Regions from separate parts of the Homo sapiens genome. Here regions 1, 2, 4, 5, 6 and 7 are each linked to region 3. The links are contacts of gene promoters, found by promoter capture Hi-C in blood cells and fetal thymus (Javierre and others, 2016). All regions are on one chromosome and are shown on one strand. Each heading gives the region's core, a stretch centred on a gene start or on the middle of the fragment in contact. The rest is flanking DNA. Distances are from core to core; before and after follow the strand shown. Region 1 has its middle 12 kb from the start of LINC02098. Region 2 has its middle 51 kb from the start of LINC02098. Region 3 holds the start of ETS1 (ETS proto-oncogene 1, transcription factor). Region 4 overlaps LOC124902786 (a long non-coding RNA gene). Region 5 has its middle 68 kb from the start of LINC02098. Region 6 overlaps LINC02098 (long intergenic non-protein coding RNA 2098). Region 7 has its middle 34 kb from the start of LINC02098.

Region 1 (2,700 bases), core at 179-2,678, 390 kb before region 3:
CCTGCCCTGGGTCTCAGTGTGGGAGCAGGCAAATGGTTAGTGCCTGGCTTAAAGTTTACAGTGGAAAGCACTTCATCAACAAAGTGTATACATTCATTCAGCCACCCAAAAATGCAACATATATTTCTCTGGATTTTTAATTTCCAGTATCTATCAGATAAATATATGTATATTTACATTTATATATATATATGTATATATTTAAAATAAATATATTGTATATAAAAAATATATATATATATTATTTTTTCTTGCCCTCTCCAAGTTCTTAACCACTTTAATTAACTTACTAGCTCTCCCACATGATATGAGACATGATTCACCTTCTACTGGATATGAGCCTACATGAAATTCAAATAGAGAAACGTCCTTACTGTCTAAACCTGAAACCACAGGGAGAAAGAAAATAGAAAACTTTTCACATAAGACAGGTAATTTTCTTAACAACTACAGATTAATATATTTTTTGCTGTAAATTTTATAGGACATTCTGTAGCCCAATTGCAAGAGCAAATTTTTCACAATGTATGTGTAGGTTTCTACCTTCAGTTTTAGAGAATATTTAGTGAAATCAGAGATTTGTTTTATTTATTTGAATATCTTTATTGTCTGCAGTTTTATTACTTTTGGAAAAAAAGAGGAAAAATCCAGCCTCTTCTGGTTTGCAATCTAAGCTCCATTTTTTTCAGGCTATTTTAAAGAGACTTCCATTATGAAATCCATTCTCTAACATCTGCAAGACTTGTCTTTTTCTGGAAGAAGAGTGGTTATAGTAATTGAGTAATAGGGAGTGAGATATGTCTCAGCATTCTGCACATTTTATTAATCACCAAGTGGTAAATAGTAAGCCTCTGCCCTCTATTTATAGTATAATTGGATGTATTTCATGACACTGGCTACACATCTGGTCAAACTGTAAAGCACACTTGCAGCCACCTTCTCTTTTTGAACTCCTAATGTATCACAGACTACAGAAAGATGTCTGCAGATAATAACAGAAACACAAAGTAATGAAAACCTTCATGAAGGACACTTCCATGGATTGCCAGAGCATGTGTCAATCTATGAGAAACTTTGATGGATTCAGCGACCTTCTTGAATTAAACAACACAATAAAAGGTTTTAATGGTAATGTAAATTAAAAATGCAATGTTAAGTAAGGCCTTAGGGATCTTGGTGAGCAGAACTGTTGAGATGGTGTTCGCAACGGAGTCTAATTCTTTGCACAATCATACATTCACACACATCGGTATACAAACTCCTGAGTTCCCACATGTGGATTCACAATTTGTAAAAGATTCTGTTTTTCATTAGGCTGGGAAGAAATGTGTTCCACATTTCTTTAGGATTTGAATTCTTTATAGGGAGAGGGTGGAAAAAGGAATCTATCTGAATATTGGACTTCAAAAACATAAGAACCAAATAAAGAGATCTGCACTCCAGAGTATAACTAATTCCAAATTACTTTGCCCAGTGATTTTAAGAAGTGAGATTAAATGTAATAATGCCTACTTTCCCCAGGATTTGAGTTTTCTGGACAGCATTTACCAAATGGGACTGGTAGAGGGTGTAATAGTGCTAATAGAAATGGTACCATTCTTACCTTCCCTATTAGATCTTCAGTTAGATATTGGCAGCCCCATGGTGTTTGTGTTTACTAATCAATGCTAGTGGTTCCAGGAAGCATTTCACAGTATTAATGAATTACAGGCTTAATAAACCTGTTTTCCCCAATTTCATGACTTTCTAGGTCAGAAATTCTCAAATATTAATGTACCAAAGAGTCTCCTAAGTAGCTTGTGAAAAGTACAGATCCAAGCCATGCCCAAAGATGGAGTCTACATCTCAGTCTCAGATTCTGCGAGATATCCGTAGGGTATTCTGAGATACCCTACGGATAATCCAGATGCAAATGATCTCTAAAGTTCACTTTTAATAAATGCTGTTCCAGAGATATTTCCCTACTTCATCTTCTGTCTTCTCCAAAATCATAAAGCTATTGGGGGGAGAGGGTTCAGTAATTATGCTTATTCTTGATTGTTGGACAGTAAGTCACTTCAATAGCACTCCCTATAGCACCATCATATTTAGGGGCCTTAAAAAATAAGTTAGCCTTCAGTGAAACTCAATCAGTACTTAATCAATTACTCTACCCAAGGATGATTAGCATTCTTTTTGTTCTAAGACATAAATTAGATGGAGGATGAGAGTCATCAGTGAAATGGATGCCCTACTACCATAAAGTCATTTGGCATTATGTATTATAAGACATAAGTGTATTGTGATAAATTAATCCTATTATATTATTATATGACTATGTTATATTACTATTAATATGTCAAATAATTTGATATTCTTATGATAAAATGATATTCCTGCATGGTTGTATCAAATAGCTGTCAGATGAAAATTACGAGTTATTTATCTACTGTCACTAATCAATGATTTTACTATCAATAATTTGTGCTACTGGGAGATTTTATTGGAAACTATAACAAAAATAAGAGGTACTATCTATATGTTAAAAACTGATTTGATTGTATTATGCTTTTTTAGCTCTGATTACCTGAAAGTTATAAATACATTGAGTTTTTGCCCTAATTATCCAATAATTGTCTTATTTCAATATTTTATTCTGTAATTTAATATTCTGTTCCATCTATGTTCATGACTGTCACTCTCCAGAGCACATTTTTTTTC
Region 2 (2,771 bases), core at 256-2,755, 330 kb before region 3:
AAATAATGCATCACAAAAAGACCTCAACTACAAGAAATGTTACAAAAAGTCCTTAAGGCAGATGAAAAATGTTAGCATATGGATATATGGATAAACCAAAGCAATAAAATACTATTTAATCCTAATTATGTGGGTAAATATATTCAATTTTTTACTTAAAGATTTTTAAAAGATAATTGGTTGTTTAAACAGACAAATAAAAATATAACATAAAGTCTATAATGCATGTATAATTGAAATGCAAACTATGATAGAAAATAGATTAATGGTCCTCTGGGGCCTAGGTTAGGGTAGAGATTTGAGAAGCTAGAAAGATAAATTACAAAGGGACGAGGGCAAATTTGGGGAGATTACAGATGCTTTCACTATCTTAATCATGCTCATGCCCTCACAAGTATACACATATATCAAAACTTCTCCAATTTTACATTAAAAATAAAAGTCTATAAACAAAGTCACTGTGTTAAGGTTTTATAGCAAGTTCAATTTAACTATCCAGTAATAAACAGTCTCTATTTTATAAATCGTATCAGGAACTAGAAAAGGAGGGAACTATCCCCAAATCATTTAACAAGGGTAATATTACCTTGAAACCAAACTAGAATAGGGTAGCATGAGAAAGGAAAAAGTTTATATTAGGTTTGGGGCAGATTTGGTACTTGGCTTGGAGTCCTCTGCTGAGAGAAACAGACTACAAGGACATTCAACAGCACCTCCTATGCAGTTAGATTTACAAGGGCCCCTGAAATCCACTGCTGGCTCCAGGGCAGGGACAGACCTCAGCCCCCCAACCTACATATGCCCCAGCTGTTCCACTTTTGAAGTTTACCAAGCAAGCAACTGTTTAGAGACAATTTAATTGTAATGAGCCCTCATAGCTAAGTGGTCTTTTATTAGCCCAAATGGAATCCCATGCGTCAGGAGGGGTCACCTTCTCCCAATTCCCCTCCAGTCTTTCCCCATTAAAGTGAAATATGGCTTTAATATAGTCACACCTGGGGGAAGTGCTCTCTTAACCGGCAGCCATGGATGCCCACCCTCCCCTATTTAAAGGTTGCCTCTTATTTCTTTATTCCTCTGGGCTGGGTTTGGCAGCTTTTTGAATGATCAGATTAGTTTTAAAGTCAATAGAAACATAGCATACGAATAGCAAAATCACTGGCACTTAAGTACTTTGGAGCTGACTTCAGTCATAATTTAAGTATAAAGAGATTGGGGGAAGACAGAACAAATAGCCCATGAAAACTAGTTTTAGAGTTCTTTATTCAGTATGTGTTTGGGGAAATTGCAGGATAGACGACTCCAACAAATCCAGGTTTTAGTGTCTCTTGGGCTCCTGAAGCCTGGGAAAGGCAAAGTGGGCCAAAGCTGGCCTCAGTGTGTGTGGGAACTGCAGGGGATGGGGGTTAGGAGGACAGTTTATAAAGAAAATGGTTCAAAGCTCTATTTTGATTCCTAGGGTAAAGTAGGCTACCAGGAGGAACACAGAGTTCATTCAAGGCACAAAGCTCAGATTAAAATGTTTCATCAGCTTTCTAACTTCCAGCACGCTCACACTTGGGCACATCTAGCAGCCTGTGTACACCCAGAATTCTGTTGCTTTGGGGCACCAACAATACACTGAAACCAGTCTATGATGATTTTCATTCTCAATCATGTTAGCGAAGGCTCAGAACAGTTAACAACTATGAGAAGGTCACACAGCCCTCAACCCTTTGACTCCAAAGTCTGTGTGCTATGGGAGTCAGTGGATGAGAATACGTTCCTCTCTTGTTGTATTTTCTTGGCTCTCACTTACTTCTAAAGGTGTCTTTCATATTTTCAGCCTCCTCCTTTTACAAATAAGTCAACAGTATGGCCTGGCAGAGTCACTTAGTAGCTTTCCTCCAGTCATGGGTGATCAAATATTCTTTTGCATATTTGGCATATTTATATTCCTCAGGAAGTTGTATCCACTGGCCCATATCTTCAGTCAAATATAAGTTTTATGGTTGCAAAGTTCTAAATCTCTCTTACTCTCACATTTAAATTATCCCAGATCTTTCTGGAGATTCAAGGTCTACAGGAACCAGCAAGTATCTCTAAGCTGTGACTTAAAGAATTTGATTTATTTGGCTTCTTCTCCTTTGAATAGCTTGAGTGTTCCTGCTACAGGGAAAGGCCACAGAGTAAACAAGAAAATAAAATAACTAATGAAATCCAAGTATCTAATTCCAACAGAAGAGAAAGAGAGAGAGAGAGATCATGTAGAGACTCAAATAAATTATTTTGATTTACTATCTGAAACCTTAGATCAAATTTCTGACTACTTTTATTCACACATTCATTGCATCATTTTTTCCTCAAAATCCGCCTTTACTTTTGATCTCAGGCTGCTCTCAGAAACTATGATATCATTGAGTACTACAGTATTCCTCTTTTTCCTTGAAAAGGTCACTTATTTAATTTGCTCCTTGGACAAAAGCCCACGTGCCTTATAATCAAGGCCTGATCTTGCTTAATGCCATGAGAGTGAAAGGGATGTAGAGAGAGTTTATTCTTTTTCTAATGATATTCATATGAGCTGCTGCATTCCCACAAAAACAGGGCCAGGAAGGGTATGCTTAGCTTTTTCGAGAAAGGTGTAATAGTCAGGCAATATTTTTCCTATCTGTAACTCAGCTCCTTGAAAATGAGCCACTGTGGCATACCAGCTAGGAGATACTTTAGGTCTAGAATGTGGACATTCTGCTATAATGTTTCCTCACATAAATAGGAAACAGAAAATATTC
Region 3 (2,700 bases), core at 162-2,661:
ATGGATGCCTGAACTGTTTGTTATTTCACTATTGAGTTGGCAAGGATGGAAGTAGTTGATTTACAATTAGAAGCAGCATGCTTCTTCAAATATTAATATTAATAACTGCACTACTGAACACATGAAAAGACCTTTTCATCTTCAAAGCACTTTGCAGACATTAACCCATTAGCTCTCCCTTCCCTCCATTCAGGAACAACAGGTGAGCAAGACTCTCAACAGCAGCAGTGGCCACCCTGCAGCCCTTGTGCACAGCCCACGGCCCCTGAAGAAAAAGCGTTTTCTCTTTGGATAAAAATAGGCCACCAAACCCAAAACCACAACTGATGAAAGAGTTATAGTATCAGTAATTTTACAAATCAAATGGAGCTGATGGAGTTATCATTTTAGAATTGGTATTTCCTGCTGTTTAACAAATACTTTTTTCTCAGTTGCATGGCAGTGGTCTAAAGTAAGAAGGAAAATGGACTTGAGATTAAAAACAAAAACTTACCCAAAAGGTGATAAAGAAATCCTGCAATAGAATGCATTGATTTCAGTGACCCAGCACCCTTTTAAGTTTGCCTGAAGAAAATACTACTTTAAAAGTTGGTAACAGAGACCTTTAACGGTGGGTGAGGAGTCACATACAAAGTGTCACGGCCAGATAAAATCACCGGATGCAGAGGAATTGCCATCGACATCTCCTGCCACTGAGTCCAGCTCTACCGTGGGGACAAGAAATACCTCCCTAACTCTGAGACAACCGCGGCCCACACCCACACCATGTCTCAACAACAGACTTAGGAACTTGTAGATCTTTGGACAACTGCAGGTCAGTCCCAAGACAGAGAAAAACACCAAACAGGCTAGTTTGGCTAGCAAGATTCAAACCTGTAGCAATTTCCTCTCTATTAAAAGCAATTCATTAAACTACTAGCAGGAGAAAAAAGTAAAACAATAGATTTACTAGGAGTGAAAGAGAATAAAAAGAAATTTATATATTTAACTACAGCTTTATTTCTTTGGAAGTGCTCCAATTTGCAAAAAAAAAAAAAAAAAATCAGGGTTTCTGACAAGTAATCTACGGGTATCTAAAACGTGCATGGTTTTACTTTTGTGAAGCAGGGAACATTTTTAAAAACATAGTCTTGCTTTCAGACTATTCTGACGAGGTTAGGAAGTATTTTTGAAAATTGTTAAACAATTAAATGGGAATATAGAAAGACGTGAAAAGAGAAAGAGAAAACTCACTTGTATCCTGAATCTCCCTACCGACTTACTCTTTAATTCCACAGAAATTTTTTTAAAGCAGGAAAAGGAAAATGGACTGAAAAGTTTTAGGCAGAAACTGACACACACCTCACTTACTACTTTGCCGGAGAGCAGATCCTGAGTGAGCTTCCCTCAAAGTCTGTGGTCTCTTTCCAACTACCTGCGGGAATCCTCTGCTCCGTAGCTTAAGAGGATGCAAAGACCATAATGTTTCTAATAGAGCTGCCTCCTTAAATTGGGGGGTGTGGTCAAGCCAGGGAAAGCTGGAAAAAAGGCAGTCTTCCTCTTGCCCCTGGCACCAGGACAGCAGCCACTGGCACAGGCACAGCAGTCTAGGTGGAAAGCACTGTTGATTGACAGTGGTGGCACCAAATCACACATTATTTCGTATTCTTCAAATTGTGCTTCAGCTGAATATAACTCAGCCTTGGAGAGTAACAGGGAGGGAGATGAGCAAAAGGGAACTAGTTCAGTGGGATAACACTGTATCTCACCTCATCATTTGCTGATGCATTTACTCTCTGCTGAATATGTAAATATTCATGCTTCATGTTCCTTGACTTTCTCAATGGAGCCCCCATTAACCTAGGCAAGGTCTCAGGTGAGGGAAAGGGATTGCTTTAGAAACACAGGACGTCCACCACCCAGTCACCTGCTCAGGCTTCCCGTTTCTCTCTAATAACTTGATATGAAATGTGATATTTTCTAAAGAAAAGAAAATAATTTTGTGGAAGAGAGCTGACTGGATATGGACTTGGGATTTCTGAAAAGTAAAGCTAAAAATCCCCTTTTCATATAAGTCTGGTTTTAGGCAATCTCTAAAATAAGGATACTTTTAGCAGCCCTGACTCATGGTCCGTGGTGCAGGAATAAAAGGGCAGAAGTGTTCATACATTTCTCATTTAGGGAAAATGTAAACAATATGAAAATCTTACATCTGTCCTAAGTGAAAATACACAGCATCTTTTATTCACATATTCAGGACTATGGTAAGAATGTTACAGCATAATCTCATTTCTATGAATGGAGTTATTACAATTTTTTTTGAGAAGTCAGTATTTGGCTGCTTAATCTAAGACTTTTATCCTAAAAGATTCCATCTTCTTTGAGTAGGAGGTGGGAGTTAAGATTTGTCATAGTTGGCTTCTTTCTCTTTTTAATAAAGATACAAACTTAGAAAATCCTTGAAAATCTAATAACTGTCATTTGGAGCCATATCATCATCAGCCTTCATTGTATAAAGCTGGCAATGCAGTTAAGATGACATTGTAAGTAAAGCAAGATTTTACTGCTCATCTTCTGCCTTTGCACATTAACTTGGAAGTAAGGAAGAGGTAATGCTATTGGTTCACTTTAGTTTAATAAATTGCCTGTGCCAGGCACTGTTCTAGGCACTAGAAAGATAGCAAGTTTGCATTGTAGTGAGGAGACAGACACATAAATCAA
Region 4 (2,702 bases), core at 151-2,650, 290 kb before region 3:
GGGAACCAAAGCCTGGAAGGAGAAAGATGTTTGTCCCTAATCACAAACACAGTTCCTGGTCCTGGAAAAATGTGACCTAGGTGGAGAAAGAAACAATAAAAAACAGAAAAGAAGGAGGCAAAAGAGGAGCCAGTGACCAAAGGCAAGCTTCACTTATTTATCCTGGGTCTGCCCAGGAATCTAGCATCAGACAGTAAGAGCCAACATGGAGACAAGTCAGGCCAGTGACCTCAGAGGCACGCGGCCACTAGAAAGAAGCCCCCGATGGCATGAAGCTTTGTTCTCTGACATAACCTATGCATCTAGCACTGTGCCTGCCTACAGGAGGTGCTCAGTTACTAGGAAATTAACAAAACTGCCTTGCAGATCTTTCCTGGCTGAAGATGAGGAGTGAGGGAAGAGAAAGAAGACAACTAAATTAGGCCCTCAGCTCCTATTTCCAGAACAGTTCTGAGAGTGTCTGTTTCAGAGTTTGAGTTTCCACAACTGCCTTTGTTAACAGGAGGGATCTATAAAAAACCAATGGTCTGGACCAGGGGCTCCCACTCTGAAAGTCTGTGACTACCAGGGGCAGTGGAGTTCTTTCACGATTCGCCTAATGTTGTTGTCTTAGAAATAATACCACTTATACAAAATACAAAACCAGCAGGACTATTTCCCAAATAAATGTAAATGAGACTGGAATTAATAAAGGTAAATTCATTTTTTAAAATTACAAAATACATAAAATCCTTTTGCTATTAAGTGTCAATGAGCCATCATGAGTATAAAAACTATAGTATGTTTTATGACTGTATTGATATTTGGAAGGGATTTCCCTGTTCATAATGTTTGGAAACCACTGCTCTGGACCTGTCCCCTAATTTCATAGATAACATCTTATAAACTTCTTCCAGAGGGGAAGAAGGATGTGGCCAAAGCCACTCAGCCTTCTGGTAGCAGAGCTGGGTATCAAATTCAGGTCATCTCTGTCTTTTTCTTTACATCACATTTCCTGAGGTGGCATTTTCTAATACCTTGATCCAAAAGGACCACTCAGTTCAACTCAATTTATTTCCCAACTGGTGATGTTGGTAGCCTAAATGGTGTGCCAGGCACTGCATCCTCTAAGTGTATTATTGTCACCACCCTTACATCACCTCAGTGAGGCAAGTCCTATTATCATTCCCATTTTAAATGTTAAAAAAAAAAATGGGGACTCAAAGAGTTAGACAGTTTTTACCAGGCCACATGATCAGCAAAGTGCAAAGCAAAGCTCAAATTCTCTGACTCCAAAGCCCAGGCTCTCATGCACTTTACTGCACACGACTTAAGGAACACATTTATAACAAACACTGGTGTCCATTGAAATAAAATTTAAGGGCATTAAAGGCAGCCCTCGGCAGTGTCAGCGATGACCCCACAATGACTGCTGTGGGCAAGGAGTGGCAGGAGGCAAGAGGTCCCAAGAAATGCCCCTAGAGAGGCCGTTTCTCAAGTGGAGAATGTGGACCCCAAGACCAGAACCACCTGAGTGTTTCCTGAGAATATCATATCTTAGATTTCATCCAGAGCAGTTCAAACAAGATCTCATGAGTGGATCTGGAGTATCTGCAGTTACTACAAAAACCCCAGCTGCCTTTGAGCTCACCGTAGTTTGAGAATGAGAGGGCTGAGAGACCCCAGGCAGGGTGTCAGTGTGAGGAGATGAAGGAGCAAGAAAGTAAAAGTCAACAGCAGGCCCAGCTCCAGCTGCAGAGGAGCCTAGTTGAGCCTCAGACACACGCTTGATGCTTCACATAGGGCCATTCCCCACAGCCTGGCTTTCTGCAGAGGGAGGAGGGGTGCCTTTCATGGTTCTGGGTGTGCAGAAGGTTTGCGTGTGTTTGTTTAGAACAAAGCCTATACTTAACTGGCACAAGTGAAACAGATTTTATAAATAGATGTGAGCATGAATGGTTTTTATGATTAGCTTGTTTTTAATCACCATGCTTGACCGGTGTCTGTGTTCAACTAAGTAAATATTTCTATGGTGATAGTATACACAATACAATGGCCATTATTTAATGTTAATACAAGTACCATATGGGAGGTCTTATCATGCGAGAGCCCCAAAGCATAATAAAAGCAGATAGGAATAGATAGGCAAGGGTGGGCCTTGCTGTACAGCTGGCTTGATAAAACATCTGCTCTTACAAATGTTGGCCATGCAAGTATTTATGCAAGATGGTTCTCCTGGGGGATTTTGGGGACAAGATCAGAAAGCCATGGATTCTGCGTTTTCTCTGTTACTCATTTGGTGACCTTGGATAAGTCTCTATACTAATTGTTTAAACATTTGTGCTTTAATTTCTCAATTCTTAGGTCTTTGCCTGCCCTCCAGAGACTAATGAAGATTAATTAACACCTGGCAGAATCCTTGAGTTATATTTTTAGAACAAAGAAACAGGGAAGGGTGGTGCTGAAATAATGCCTCATTATTTTAACATATAAAAGGGAGACAATCCAGTACATTTTTCACTTACAACTGGAAATTTGAGAAAACTTGAAGCTTCCTGAGATTAGTAAAGCAGCCTTGTCATGAACAAAGCCTCTTAGGAAATGTACTAGGTTGCAAACCTCGCCAGATGACTTTTCACTCAGTAGGAACAACTAAGATGATAAAGGGCATGAAACTAGAATGATTGTCTCCTGAAAAAGGGCAAATGGGAAGGTTAGAGCTT
Region 5 (2,700 bases), core at 81-2,580, 310 kb before region 3:
CTAATTGATACCATACATTAAAATAGATTCCACGTTTCTTAAAAGTTTAAATTTGAAAGTCAGAGCTTAAAATCTTTAAACATTGGAGAATATTCTTATTATCACAGGGTTGAAGATAATTTTTAAGACACATAATCTGGAAATCTATAAGACAATATTAATATGTTTGCCTACATTAAAATTTAAACATATTCATCAAAGAGGCCATGAGTAGAGAGGAAAGATAAGCCATAAACTTGGAAATGTTTAAAACACATATAACCAAAAAGAGACTTTTTCCCAAAATAGATTACATTGAACCATATGAAATTGCCTCCTTTGTCTATCTAAAATGATCGAATATTGCTATTTCTTATGGTTCAACCTAACAAAAGAATTTCTATGAATCATTCAGAAAAAAGATAGACCAATAGAAAAATGAGTAAAAGAGATAAACTAGCTCTTCTGAGAAGAAGAAATAAATAGCTAACAAATATTTTAATGGATGCCAATTTCACTAGAATGATAGAATTGTAAAATAAACCATAATTACATATGATTTCACATCCACTAAATTGACTAAATGTATACAATCTGACAATGTCGGGAATCCCAGTGTGTTCTAAGCATTGTCAATGATGTGAGGCAAAAAACATTGCATTCATGCTGGTTTTTCTTCTTGGAATCGCACAGGATTAAGTGTGCCCTGTCACTCTCTCAATGTCCTCTCTTTTCATTACAACAGCACACAGCTGAGAGTTTTCCTGGGTAAGGTATTTACCCTTGTGAATTTGAGCCATGTCTACATTTGCACTGTAAACTTTCATCCCTGGCACTCTTCAATCCTTCATGCAAATCTGTGATTCCAATGAATATCATTCTTCTTCAGCTGGAAGAACTTCCTTTGATATTCCTTTCAGTACAGGTCTGCTGGTGATTAATTTTCTCAGCATTTTTTGTTTGTTTGTTTGAAGACACCTTTATTTGCCTTTGTTTCTGAATGATAGTTTTGATTGATATGGAATTGTTACACGACAAGTTTTTTTTTTTCTTCCAACACTAAAAATGTGGATCACTATGTTTTGGCTTGCATTATTTCTGATGAGAATTTCGCAGTCATTCTTATGGTTTTTTCCCTATAGGTAATGTGTCTTTTTCTCTGGCTTCTTTTAAAATATTCTCTTTATCATTGGCGTGTCTTTCATTCACACAAATTTTTGGTCTGTTCATTTTGTTTTTGAGAAAGCTAACATTTTAATTTTTCTATTGTTATGATTTATCTATTAATTCAATAATTTTGGAGCAGAAGCGGGGAATCTCAAAGTATTTACTTATTAAGCCACCTTGCCTGAAGTTGTAAGTACACTTGTGTTTTCACCAATTCCATACTACTTTAAGTATTACTGCTTTAGATAAATCTTAATATTTGATAGAGTTGGTGAATTCTGGTTATTCCTCTTTTTCAAAAATCTTCTTTAATTATTTCATCAAATTATTTTTAAATAATTTTTTAATACAAAAAGCCTTAGGCTGAATGTTTTTGGAATCATACTATATATCCATAAATTAATATATGGATTTGATATATTTGAGATATTTAATCTTTATTCCCAGAAACATGGTACATTTCTCCATTGATTCCAGGTTCATCTAGAACAGTTAAAAACACATTTATGTGGATTCGTACCCAAGTGCTTTTTGTTGCTGTAACAACCTAGATCACATAGTAAATGTCTATGGTTGCCCAATGGTTTGTCGCAGAGCCCTTCCCACAATCTTGTTCTTTTTAATAATTTTACCAGTTTATCAGAAATCAAAAATAATTTTAGGTTTATCAAAAAACATAAAAGATGTGTGTCTGTGGAGGAATAACTAATATAACAAATTACTAATCACTTTCACTATGGTGAAAATCTTGGTTTCAGGAAAAAGAGATCTGGACTTCAGCAATTCTTTTCAGTAAATGGTACCCTGTAGAGGGCAAAAAGGCTATTTTATCTAGTAAATACTATTTTCACTCCAAAGATCCATCCCACCAGAGAGGTGGAGAATCAGCATGAGTCATTGTTGGGGTTTCCTTCAATCTTCTGGGTTATGCTGAGGCTCTGGGGTCTTATTTAAGACCAGGGTGACATTAAGACCTCTTTGTGCATCCATCCATAGATTTATTCCTGAGTTCCCATTATTCCTGTATGCATATTCGTTTGAGGTTTGTGTGTTGTAAGCTCTCTGCCAACTTAGGGCACTGAATGTTTATCTGGAAAGAGTTTCTTTAGTTAATTTGTGTGTCTGCTAGAATTTTATTCACCTTCATTTTTAAAGTATATTTTTACTAAGTTGAGAATTCTGAATAGCAAGGGTTTTGTTTTTGTTTTTCCTTTCAGCACTTTAGAGGTCTTATTTTATTGTCATCTGGATTTTATAGTTCAGTTGGCATGTTCACCATTGTCCTTAAGGCTGTTCCCTTAAAGATAATGCACATATTTGTAATCTGTCTGCTTTTGAAATTTTCTCTTGGTCTTTGCTTTACAGAAGTTATAATACCATGGCATAGAATATTATGAATAGGGCTTGCTGAGTTTCTTGAATATTTTTCTTCATGTCTTTAGTCAGTTTGGAAAATTCTCTGCCAGTGTTTCTTCAAATATTGCTTCTGTTTCATACTCCTCCCCCTCTCCTTCTGGGACTCTGAGAACAGATATGTCAGTCTTTTTTTTTCTC
Region 6 (2,777 bases), core at 67-2,566, 370 kb before region 3:
CCACCTCTAGCAATAAGAAAAGCTGTAGCTTTGGATCTATGAACACAGAAGTGTTATAATAATTGTTCAGTCACATCCTATTCGCCTAAGAAAAATAACTTGCCTTTATAAATTACTCACTAGCAGGGAGTATCTCAGCACTGAATGAATTTCGCTATATTTTCACTAGTCTTCAAATAAAATCTCTTCATCACAAGACACTGAAATGGACAGGACTATTCAAGAAGTGGAATTTAGGCTGGGAACAGTGGCTCACACCTGTAATCCCAGCACTTTGGGAGTCCAAGGCAGGAGGATCATTTGAGTCCAGGAATAAGAGATCAGCCCAGGCAACATGCTAAGGCCCCATCTCTACAAAAAATGCAAACGTTAGCCAGCATGGCGGTGCAAGCCTATGGTCCCAGCTACTCGGGAGGCTGAGGTGGGAGGATAACTTGAGCCCAGGAGGTTAAGGCTACAGAGAGCTATATAACTGCACTCCAGCCTCGGCGACAGAATTAGACCTTGCCTAAAAAATAAAAAGGTGGAATTTAGAAAGTCAGCATATATTTCCTCTGCTTTTAAAAAATCTCTGCAAAGATATCTTGCATAATTATGCCCACCTCCCACCTCTGTGGATCAAGAGCCACCTTATGTTTGCAAAAACTTAAATTTTACAGAACATTTTAGAAGAGGTCTGATTAGTTGTTTCTGGAACAAGATGGACTTGGAATACCAAAGACACACAGAGAGTAAAGAAGCTTGGGTCTAAGTGAAGGCTGGTCCTTTTATCTTATGTGTAACTTTTGTTTTTGTTTGTTTGTTTGTTTGTTTTTTTAGACAGAGTCCCACTCTGTAGGCCAGGCTGGAGTGCAGTGGCATGAACTCAGCTCACTGCAACCTCCACCTCCCGGGCTCAAGCAATTCTCCTGCCTCAGCCTCCTGAGTAACTGGGATTACAGGCGTGTGCCACCACACCAGGCTAATTTTTTTTGTTTTTTGTATTTTTAGTAGAGATGGGGTTTCACCATGTTGGCCAGGCTGGCCTTGAACTCCTGACCTCAGGCAATCCGCCCACCTCAGCCTCCCAAAGTGCTGGGATTACAGGCGTGAGCCACCGCACCCGGCTCTTATGTGTAACTTTTAACAAGTCATTTAACCCCTCTGACCTTCAATGTATTCATCTGTAAAGTGTAGACAATGTCTTCCCTATATATTATAAATGACTTAGGAAGATTAACCAGTTAATACGTGTATTAAAATTATCATCACTGACCATGCTGCGTCAGTTTCCTATTTCTGATTTCCTACTAACTGCACCAGATTAATCATAAAATTCCACTTTCTTCATGCAATCAAAGAATGCTGATTTTGGGCAGGACAGTATTATTCTGTATCCAAAACATGCCACAGCATAGCCTCAGTCTACCATTTCCACCTTCAATCTCATTTCCCAGCACTCCACAACATGTGTGCTGTGGACTCAGCCTGAACTATCCTACAAAATATCTTTGCCTCCATGTCTTTGTTTACCCCAGAGATAAATAAAGTATACATTCTGCCTTCGCATGTTTGGGCTTTCTCCACACCCTTGAATGTCTCCCTTGGAGTTCACAAGGTAGTGTCCAGGCTTTTGGCTTGAGATGTAACATTATTCATCTTTTTCCTCTCTCCTGTATTGTCTCCTTGAGGAAAGAGATAATGTATTCTGATTGGTCGTTTTCTGTTTTGGGTTTTTATTTTTTGTATTTTTCACAACATAAAGAACAATATTTTGCACACAGCAGATGCTCAATAAATGCCTTTTAAACAATGAATGATTTCAATTTCATATAAATGCAAGACTTGTTCTGTGGACTCCACCTTTCAGAAGAGTGGGTAGAGACAGAGGTCACCTCTTCTTATCTGCCTCGGAAGCTTATTGAAAAAAGAAGTGTGCGGCCCAGAAGAAACAAGGGTGCTGAGAGCCTCTAGGGAGAGCCACCTTGGTCCGAAATGAAGAATGCAGAGGTTTATCCTTCAGCCTTGAGTAATAAATCCCTCAAACCTTGAATTATTTTTCACTATAAACAAGAAGGCATTCTCTGAGTACTTAAAAATTCTTGAGATAGCAGCAGGTCATGGGAAGCCATGCAAAGTCTGCTCAGTGCAGGAATCTGATTCTGGGTGTCCCCCTGGGAAACCAATCTCCTGAACCCAAGGAGATCCTCATCTCTGAATTTTTTCAAATAGCCACAAAGGAGACCTAAGTCGGAAGACTTAACCTCTTCTATGCTCAAGTAAGCCCTTAGCTGCAACTGGAATTCAGAGTATTTCCACTTCAGAATATCACACACATTTCGGAGGAAATGGGGGATTGACTTAGCCTGGAAAGATAAGGCATCAAGGAGATCTCAAAGGAGAAAGCAGTTTTTAGCCTCTCCACACAGTGCATTACTAGGGCAATCACCAAACATTTAACACCTGCACTGTGGCTTCAGCAGGGAGCCCTGGCTTCTGCTTGGTTACCCCTGCTGAATTCCCCTCAGCACAAATGAGAACTGGCTGTGATTTCTTTCTCTTTTTTAAATTTTAAGTTATTGGGTGCATGTGCAGGATGTGCAGGTTTGTTACATAGGTAAATGCGTGCCATGGTGATTTGCTGCACCCGTCACCCCATCACCTAGTTATTAAGCCCAGCATGCATAAGCTGTATTTCCTGATGCTTTTCCCCCTCCGACAGACCCCAGTGTGTGTTGTTCCCTTCCTGTGTCTATGTGTTCACATTGTTCAGCTCCCACTTATAAGTGAGAAGAAGT
Region 7 (2,700 bases), core at 155-2,654, 340 kb before region 3:
CACTATACATGATATGTATGAAAACATCACTATGTACCTTGTAAAATTATTATACGTCAATTAAAAAAAGGGAAAATGTGTTGTGCTTAATTATAATAAGAAAATTTAAACAGATTGATGAGAATTCAAAGTTTTCACTGATGTGAATATTAGTTAACAGGAAAAAAGAACTCATAAAAACTGTTCCATACTTGTTTTACCCCAAAATGTTAATCCATGCTGTTATAGATACCCTGTGAGACACACAAATGCTTTTCCAACTCATTGATTTCAAATCAAAGGGCAAAATATACATTAGTAATGATGATATGCCAAAACGCTCCTTAATGTGAACATCAGTATTTACGTTTTAATGTCAGTTACAAAGATCCCTGGGCGGGCGCGGTGGCTCACACCTGTAATTCCAGCACTTTCGAAGGCCGAGGCTGGTGGATCATGAGGTCAGGAGATCGAGACCATCCTGGCTAACACAGTGAAACCCCGTCTCTACTAAAAATACAAAAAATTAGCCGGGCTTGGTCGTGGGTGCCTGTAGTCTCAGCTACTTGGGAGGCTGAGACAGGAGAATGGTGTGAACCCGGGAGGCGGAGCTTGCAGTGAGCTGAGACAGCGCCACTGCACTCCAGCCTGGGCAACAGAGCGAGACTCCGTCTCAAAAAAAAAAAAAAAAAAAAAAAAAAAAAAATCCCTAAGCAGAGATTTGGGATCCTTTATATTCATGAATCTTTAATTCAGGAGTTCAAGATACCACAAACCGGCCGAGTGTGGTGGCTCATGCCGGTAATCCCAGCACTTTGGAAGGCCAATGCAGGTGGATCACTAGAGCCCTGGAGTTAGCCTGGGCAACATGGGGAAACCCCCCGTCCCTACAAAAAACTACAAAAGTTAGCCAGGCGTGATGGCATACGCCTGTAGTCCCGGCTACTCAGGAGGCTGGGAGGACGGCTTGAGTCCAGAAGGTGGAGGTTATAGTAAGCCGTGAACATGCCACTGCACTCCAGCACGTGCAACAGAGCAAGACCCTCTCCTCTTCCTCTCTCACAAAAAAAAAAAAAGAAATCACAGAACTATATTACTGCATATTTGTTTGTGTACAATTTACTTTTAATGTGACAACTTCTAGTTTCCCAATAAACTGAAATCCTACACTGAAAAAATAAATCCAGTAACTCACAATTATGTGTTTTGGCTGGCCAAGCATGTTTATCATTTTAAAATAAAATACAGTGTTGCAAAAACAGTTGTAGTAGCTTGGCAATTGTGTTTCAGTACTGTAATGCATGGGTATCAGAAGAGATTGGGCAGATTTCAGCACATTAAGTTACATTTTATTATAGTTCATTACATTTAAGAAAAAATTAACTGAAAATGCCATTTTTCTTGTTATCAGCATGGAAAGGCCTCAGTATAATAAGTACCATGAATTGATTTATTGAGCACTTACCATGTGCCAGTCAATTGACACTGTTGTCACGTAGTCTTTTAACATGCCTGTGGAGTAGACAGATTATTTTTATTTACATTTATAGATGAAAGTGAGTTTTGGAGAGGTAAGGTAACTGTACTCAAGTTAAAAAAGAAGAAAAAAGGTAGTAAGTATAGTAAGTAGAGGTTCTGAGAATGAAACCCAGCTGCATATGATTCCTTAGACTATGATAACTTCTCTGCTATTGTCATTTGCACAAGCTGGCTAAAAATAAACAAATAAAAGGAGCAAAACTAAAACAAAGAGATCCCATGCACACAAGATGTGCACATAGACTCCTATACCTAAGGAATCATCATACACTAAAAGCTCATATGTTTCCAGGTATTTTTCCTGAAGAGTTGATGGAAATGTATCCTTTGAAGGGTATAATGTGCCACCAATCCTTACCATTCTCCTCCCTCCCATTGCTCTAGTGTCTTGTGTTTTGAGGTGAGTATCCTGAACCAGACCTCTGAGTAGCTGAGTCTGTAGGTAAAACACACATTCATATCATGGACCCTAAGGAGGCTGTGTGCAAATGTACCCTTTCATTTACACGCTAGATCAAAGGCTGTAAACATCATTCCTGAAGACGCATGTGATCATCTTAGCAATGCTGACGTGTACAAATGTGGATGAAGATCAAATTTGCTTAGAGTTGTCTTTCTTTAGCTATTTCTCTTTTAAAACCTATGCTTGGAGTTTTAAAAGAGTTCAAAGCAAAAGTTAAACAATTTTATACCAGCTCTCATCCAAGATAAGACCAGTAGCATCACCAACACAATCAAAATGGTCCCAAGCAATGTTCCATTTGAGAATTCTTTTACCACAAACTTTTAACCCTCATGTACTTCAGAGGAAAACATTTTGTTTATGCTTATTTCAGCAAACGTTACTGAGTAAAACTGATGGGCTCTTTAAGTTGTTTCACAAGGTTTGATTTTAAATCAAGATGCTATAAATTAAGAAGGCTTTTAAAAATTCAACTTTCTAAAGATGTCAAATTTTACTGGGTATGTTTAAAATCAAAGGAAATGTTCTAAATAATATTTCAACTTGCAAAAGATGTTCAACTAAAAACCTGATGGAAAATAGCCAAGCATGGACAGCTTTACAGTAGAGGGGAGATGAGGCAGGGCTTGTCAGGACTAAATGAGCTATGAAAATCATTCCAATGTGGGTTCCAATAATGGCTGCACAATTGCCTTCTATGAGACCTCTGCTCTTCATTG

The links. The method cuts DNA at HindIII sites, captures the fragments that hold promoters and counts their contacts. A CHiCAGO score of 5 or more calls a contact.
Region 1: a fragment that was not itself captured here is called in contact with the fragment with the promoter of ETS1 in region 3 in 16 of 17 cell types (activated CD4 T cells, total CD4 T cells, naive CD8 T cells and 13 more); the score reaches 32.4 in activated CD4 T cells.
Region 2: a fragment that was not itself captured here is called in contact with the fragment with the promoter of ETS1 in region 3 in 13 of 17 cell types (activated CD4 T cells, total CD8 T cells, total B cells and 10 more); the score reaches 22.6 in activated CD4 T cells.
Region 4: a contact is called between a fragment that was not itself captured here and the fragment with the promoter of ETS1 in region 3, in 17 of 17 cell types (activated CD4 T cells, naive B cells, total B cells and 14 more). The highest score is 34.9, in activated CD4 T cells.
Region 5: a fragment that was not itself captured here is called in contact with the fragment with the promoter of ETS1 in region 3 in 12 of 17 cell types (activated CD4 T cells, total B cells, non-activated CD4 T cells and 9 more); the score reaches 20.2 in activated CD4 T cells.
Region 6: a contact is called between a fragment that was not itself captured here and the fragment with the promoter of ETS1 in region 3, in 12 of 17 cell types (activated CD4 T cells, total CD8 T cells, naive CD8 T cells and 9 more). The highest score is 16.7, in activated CD4 T cells.
Region 7: a contact is called between a fragment that was not itself captured here and the fragment with the promoter of ETS1 in region 3, in 5 of 17 cell types (total B cells, non-activated CD4 T cells, activated CD4 T cells and 2 more). The highest score is 9.1, in total B cells.

What each region holds. Positions count from the first base shown.
Region 1 is chr11:128,195,615-128,198,314 of GRCh38, forward strand. No RefSeq gene overlaps it. Among named protein-coding and RNA genes, the nearest start is that of LINC02098, 12 kb to the right of the region's middle. The HindIII fragment of the contact is 5,347 bases long and covers 1-2,700 here.
Region 2 is chr11:128,258,133-128,260,903 of GRCh38, forward strand. No RefSeq gene overlaps it. Among named protein-coding and RNA genes, the nearest start is that of LINC02098, 51 kb to the left of the region's middle. The HindIII fragment of the contact is 4,926 bases long and covers 1-2,771 here.
Region 3 is chr11:128,586,147-128,588,846 of GRCh38, forward strand. ETS1 (ETS proto-oncogene 1, transcription factor) reads right to left here and starts at 1,412. Exons shown (of 10, transcript NM_001143820.2): 1 at 1,342-1,412. LOC105369565 (a long non-coding RNA gene) reads left to right here. Exons shown (of 5, transcript XR_948163.3): 4 at 194-814. RefSeq lists a silencer at 1,365-1,571. The HindIII fragment of the contact is 9,036 bases long and covers 1-2,700 here.
Region 4 is chr11:128,295,430-128,298,131 of GRCh38, forward strand. LOC124902786 (a long non-coding RNA gene) reads left to right here. Exons shown (of 2, transcript XR_007062945.1): 2 at 1-720. Among named protein-coding and RNA genes, the nearest start is that of LINC02098, 88 kb to the left of the region's middle. The HindIII fragment of the contact is 2,255 bases long and covers 274-2,528 here.
Region 5 is chr11:128,275,831-128,278,530 of GRCh38, forward strand. No RefSeq gene overlaps it. Among named protein-coding and RNA genes, the nearest start is that of LINC02098, 68 kb to the left of the region's middle. The HindIII fragment of the contact is 4,353 bases long and covers 1-2,700 here.
Region 6 is chr11:128,220,366-128,223,142 of GRCh38, forward strand. The region is part of intron 3 of LINC02098 (long intergenic non-protein coding RNA 2098); the gene reads left to right. Among named protein-coding and RNA genes, the nearest start is that of LINC02098, 13 kb to the left of the region's middle. The HindIII fragment of the contact is 1,156 bases long and covers 739-1,894 here.
Region 7 is chr11:128,241,457-128,244,156 of GRCh38, forward strand. No RefSeq gene overlaps it. Among named protein-coding and RNA genes, the nearest start is that of LINC02098, 34 kb to the left of the region's middle. The HindIII fragment of the contact is 9,586 bases long and covers 1-2,700 here.